Regions from separate parts of the Homo sapiens genome. Here region 1 is linked to region 2. Evidence: promoter capture Hi-C in 16 types of primary human blood cells and fetal thymus (Javierre and others, 2016). All regions are on one chromosome and are shown on one strand. Each heading gives the region's core, a stretch centred on a gene start or on the middle of the fragment in contact. The rest is flanking DNA. Distances are from core to core; before and after follow the strand shown. Region 1 holds the start of PPP4R3A (protein phosphatase 4 regulatory subunit 3A). Region 2 holds the start of BTBD7 (BTB domain containing 7).

Region 1 (2,837 bases), core at 204-2,703, 1.8 Mb before region 2:
AAGATGTTTATATAGTAAGCTACACACAAAATTCTGCATTACTATAAAAAAGACAACCAACACTGGTGAACGAAAATCTTCGCAAGGGAAAGCGTTTTCTCTTAGTGTAGAGTTGCCAGATACAGTGTTGCCAAGCTTCAACACGATCAGAAACATGTAGCAAAAAGATGTTTAAAAAGAAAAACAAAAAAAGCACAGCAAAACGTTCTTCAAAGTGTGAAAGGTCCAAGAACTTTCTTAGCTCCAAGCAAAGTTTCATGCCTGCTTTACAGATGGGTGAACTAAGGCAGCAGATCGGATTAATCAGTGTCTTTCTCAAGGTCACTCTAGTGCAAAAGAACAGCACACTCCGGACTCCCTATCTCAGGTCCTCGACCTCTCCACACTCCAGGGCGGCACAGCTCAAACACGCTTGGCTCTCCTCGTACCCAAAATGCCACCAGGCACTCAGAGAAAGGAAACATTTCAAGCGCTCTCCGGGGAGCTCCCGCAAGACTGGGGTACCTGGGGCCCGTCCTCCCCCGAGGTGGCCGCCCTCCCCAGCCGTCCCTCTGTTCTCGTGGAGCGAGCGCCATGCCCCGCAAGAACCAGGGAGGCGGCCCAGGGCCGTGGGGGCTGCGAGGGTCCCGCCGCGCGGGGCTTCACTTACCGTCGCTCTCAGCCCTGACAAGCAGGGACATGCCCTTCAGCCGCTCCACGTAGCCAGACGACACATGCCCGGTGCCCCGGTCGTCCCACTGCCGGTCCTCGTTGAGCGTGTACACCTTCACCCGCCGCCGGGTGTCGGTCATCGTGCCGCCCGGGAACCGGGGCGGGGGCCCCGCCAGTAGACGCCCAGGAAAGGGGCCCTGGAGAGGCGAGGGGCGAGGCGTGAGGGCGCCCGCGAGCGGAGGGCTCCCCGGCCTCACTGCCGCCGCTGGGCGCCGCGGGGCCGCGCCGCCGCCTGCATGGCCCGCTCCAGGGACCGAGCTCTGGGCCGCCGCCTTTCCTCGCCTCCGGCTCCCCGGCGCTATTGTCCAGGCCTGGCGAGCCCGGCGCCCGGCAGCCCCGAGGGGGCCGCGCAGCGCTTCGTAGCCTCCCGCCCCGCAGCGCTAGGAACTCGGGGCTCCCGTCACTGCCCTGCTCCCGCCTCCGCCATGATCTCCGCGAAGCAGCTTCCCGCGCCGCCGCCGCCTCCTCAGGCCGCCGCCGCCGCCGCCATATTTTCCTTCCTTATACCTGGCCCTGCCACCGCGGCCAGTGGCTCCCTTCCGCTCCCCCTGTTTTAAACGTCAGAAGCCGACAGGCGCCTGATCCTGCTGCAACTGCTACCACTGCCCGGGAGACTCTGAGGGCCCCCGGCCGCCCAAGCGACCCGGACTAGTGGAAGTCGGTTTCCCTCCGCCGCCGTCTCTTCCGTCTTCCTCACACAGCCAAAACCGCCGCCATCTTGGTTCGCCCCTCAAAAGCGGCGCGCGGGGCCACCCAGGGAGCAGCTGCAGGGGCGGCTCGTAGCCCCACCATTTAAAGAGACAGCAGCGAGACCGGGAGCCTTACTGCGGCGGAGGCTTCCGACGGAGGCGGGAGGCGGGCGCGGAGTTGCCGAGGTGGCGGGAGCGCAGGGAGCGGAGGAGGCGGGACGCAGATTGCGCCGGTGACAGCCCGAGGCTCCCTCCCGCCTCCTTGCACGCACCGTCGTGCGAGCGCTGGGCGGTGTGTGCGTCCGTCGCGCCCTGTGTTCGTCATCAGCCCCGCTCCAGGATGCACGAGGGGCGTGGATACGTTTGCGGCCTCTGCCCGCGGGCCCCGGCGCTTCGGCCTCGCCTCCGCCCGCCGCCACCTTCCCTTGTTCCTGCCCCGTCCCTGCCTCTGCCCCTGCCCCTGGCCTGCGGACGCCGGGCAGCGTGGGCCTGGGCCCCTACCCGCTTCCGAGAGCGTTTTCCCGGGGCCGCCTTTATGGCTGAGTCGGGCGCTCGGGACCCACCCGGCGCCTTGCGGACTTGAGGGAATGAAATGGAAACGCTTCCGGGGAAGGTCGCGGGTGTGGGCGCCTAGGTCGGCGCAGCCTTGGGAGCCGCCGTGGGTCGCGGACTGGCGTGGCCAGTGTGGAAACTTGGGACTGTTTGCGATTTCTGGGCGTGGGACCGAGTTCCAAGTGACAATTCTAAAACTTCACCTTACAGCCTAGGCAAGCCCCAAGTGCTCCATTCCTTCATCCCTATCAGAACTGTCTGCCAGCCTTTCTTGTCGGAAAAGGAACTTAAGGCGCTCACAAAAACAAATGCGACACTGTGTAATCGGGAGGAGTAATTCTCAGCATTAGGTAGTCCTGTGTTTTGAAGACCTACTTGATGTCAAGTATTGTTGATCTTCACAAAGGAATATCATTCTCGTTCCTATCATGCAGCTCATATGCCACCATTTTGGTGGCTTTTACCATTTGCCAGGCCTTGCCAGGTCGGGCTTGTCCGCTCGGAATATAATGCAGCCACACACATAACTTTAAATTTTGCAGTAGCCACAAAAAGTACGAAGAAACTGGTGAAATTAGTGTTAACGTTTTAGTGCGGTATTTTCAAAAGTTATTTCAATAATCAAATTACTAATGAGATATACGTACAATGTCTTAAAAATGTGATATATTTTGTCCTTCCAGCAAGTCTCTGTTGGGATACTAAATTTTCATCAGAAATATCTACGTTTAGATTTTATTGAAAAAAAATTTTTTTTGAGACAGGGTCTCTCTGTCACCCATCCTGAAGTGCAGTGGCTCAGTCTCAGCTCACTGCAGCTTCAACCTCCTGGGCTGAAGCGATTCTCCCATCTCAGCCTCCCAAGTAGCTGGGACCACAGGTGCG
Region 2 (2,747 bases), core at 37-2,536:
GGGCGCCTGTAATCCCAGCTACTTGGGAGGCTGAGACAGGAGAATCGCTTGAACCTGAGAGGCGGAGGTTGCAGTGAGTCGAGATCGCACCACTGTTCTCCAGCCTGGGTGACAGAGCGAGACTCCGTCTCCCCCCCCCCAAAAAGGTTGTTAGTTGAAAAAGCTAAGTAATTCTGTAAAAATGTCTACTTTCTCATTACAGTAAGATGTTTTCGCAGAGTTAACAGTGCTCTGGTGTAGATAACCAAGACTGCTTCTGTAAATTAGGCCTACTCCAGAGTACTTATTATCTGTGCTGGTATGTGAAGACGTGCAATTGTAGTTCACAGGAGAAACAACACTCCTCAGAGTTTCTTGAAAAACGGTGAGAAAGTTCTCACCCTCGGGGTAAAGCTAGCAAACACTGTGCAAATAAGGTACTGAAATATGCACACTTTTTGCCATTCAAGTAGTCCAACAAGCACAGCCTCCTCTTCTTTATCAAACACTCGGTATTGTCTCCCTCCCAACCTGTCAAAGCTCAATTCCAGGTTTATCCCGCAATAGTAACTTACCCGGACAATCTAACTTCCCCTGGGAGTAGCAGTCCTCAGGCCTGCTCCCTTCCCAGACCCCGCCGGCCACTCTCACGCCCACCCCTGGCGGTCGCAACCCCGCACCCGGGTAAACACGCGCCCCCGTCTCGGGAGCGGTTTCTCAGCGTCCTGGGAGCGACGGGTCCCGCCCCTCGGCGCCCGGAGCCCAAAGCCGGCCGGGCTGCCGTCGCGACTCCCTCGGGCCGCTCTCCCCGCCCCGAGCGCCACACCTCGCGCCCCTGCCCCAGGGACGGCGGCGCGCTCCAGCCCGCCCCTCGGAGCGCACAGAGACCGGCCAGTCCGGCGCCGCCGCGCCTCAGCCCCAGACGGACGACTGGCCCCTCCCCGCCCGGCGCCCCAGCGCCTCCCGCGGCGGCTTGGCCCCAGCCCCGGCGCCCCCACGCCTAAGAACAGCCCCTTCCTCTCCCGGACGCCCCGCGCCACACCGGACACAGCCTCGGCTCCACAGCCTCAGAGACACCAAGGGACACTCACCCCGGAGGCTCCTCCCGCCGCTGCTGCTGCCGCTGGGACCGCTGCCGTCGCCTCCGCCGCCGCCGCCACCAGCACCGCCGTCCGCACCGGCGCCAGCACCCCCGGCCATCCTCCTCCCACCGCCGCCGCCGCCGCCCTCTCCTCTCCTGTCAGTGGCTCAGGCTCCGGGACTGCTCCAGGTTCCCCTCGCCGCCATTTTGACTCCTAGACGGAGCAGGAGGGGCTCGGTTCGGCGTGGCCCTGGGGCGCCTGCGCGGCGCTGCGGAGCCGGCCGGAGCCCCCGCCCTCCCCTGCCGTCGTCCCGCTCAGGGTCACGTGGCCCGACGTCGCCGCGCGAGTCGGGCCGCGTGGGGGGGCGGTGCGTTCGCTGGATCCATGGGAGCGGAGTGCGCGCGCATTATTTTTGCTCGTCGGCTGGGAGCCGGGCGTCGGGTCGCTGGGAGTTTGCCTCTTGTGGCAGCATCCTGCTTAGTCCAGCGAATTGTGACACATTATTAAATGTATCAGAATATAAGAACTGTGTCACTACTACGTCACCAGATGGCCATTTCCACGAATTCATGTTTCCGTTCGGCGGCCGGCGTCCCTCGGGTGGTCGCATGCAATGAGTGCATCTTTCTCGAGAACAACTCTTCCGCGGAAAGTCATTGCTGACAGTCCTGGCATTCCGGTGGCTGCTTCTTGGCAGTGAGCACTTGTCTATCGTAAGCACTTGTCTGCATGGTACTTTTACAGGCACCACCTTGCTACTTGTGTAGTAGGTTAAAAAATAATCTTTAAGACACTGAAAAGTTTTCCTTAACAAGATACCCCTGTAAACAAAGGACAAAATTGATGAAAACACACAGTCGCCACGTGGGAGAGCCAAGTCGCTCTTCCCTAGATGCCCCTTGTTTGGGGGTTTGCAATAATTTCAGCGATGCAATAACAAAAATACTGTATTTATGGGGCACTGTCGTTTTCCAGAGAGATCCATGGTTTCATTTGAACGCCAAAGCCACCCTTTGTGGTAGTCAGGATAGGTGTTTTTATTGCTGTTTTACAACCAAGGAGACAGGCTCAGAAATACTAACAAGTAGGCAAGCCAAGATCAGAACCCAGGCATTCTGAACCCAGTGAGGAGGCACCGTTACACCTCCTTTTCCTCTGATAGACATTAGCAACTCTGGGAATTTATTTGAAAGTATTGTATTTGCATTTTCAATCTCTACCCATTGTTTAACAAGTTTTGTGTCACACAGTTTTTTGTTGTTGTTGTTCTGAAACCACCTCTAAGCTTCAAAGGATAAGAGCAATTTGGAATTTTGTGATGTGTTTTTAACCATCTCTTGACCCTCCATTATTTTATGCTTTTCATATTCAGTTGGAGACAATATCATTGTTGTTTTCCTCTGGACTTCCTTCAGATTTGTATTTTCCTCACCCTCATTCTTCATCACCTTACTTCCTTGAAAAGGATAGCTCTTTCCAATTTGTATTACTTCATTTTCTTTACCCATCTCACCCTTTTCACCCTCTTACCCAATCCTTGAAGGTTTGGAGATTGTAGCAGAGATTGTAGCAGTCCCTTGCCTGAAATTCCCCTCTAGCTGGTAAGGGTCACTTCAGTTGAACATACAGCCTCAGGGCGATAGACAAGAAATGCATGGAAAAGTGAGAAAATATAAAAGAAATAGG

The links. The method cuts DNA at HindIII sites, captures the fragments that hold promoters and counts their contacts. A CHiCAGO score of 5 or more calls a contact.
Region 1: the fragment with the promoter of PPP4R3A here is called in contact with the fragment with the promoter of BTBD7 in region 2 in 1 of 17 cell types (fetal thymus); the score reaches 6.1 in fetal thymus.

The regions. Positions count from the first base shown.
Region 1 is chr14:91,508,857-91,511,693 of GRCh38, forward strand. PPP4R3A (protein phosphatase 4 regulatory subunit 3A) reads right to left here and starts at 1,454. Exons shown (of 15, transcript NM_001366432.2): 1 at 650-1,454. The coding sequence starts at 791. RefSeq lists enhancers at 54-705, 706-1,356, 1,174-1,453 and silencers at 464-513, 764-823, 834-933, 1,514-1,713. The HindIII fragment of the contact is 5,922 bases long and covers 134-2,837 here.
Region 2 is chr14:93,331,750-93,334,496 of GRCh38, forward strand. BTBD7 (BTB domain containing 7) reads right to left here and starts at 1,287. Exons shown (of 11, transcript NM_001002860.4): 1 at 1,071-1,287. It also overlaps a transcript of UNC79 not described here. The HindIII fragment of the contact is 5,146 bases long and covers 1-2,344 here.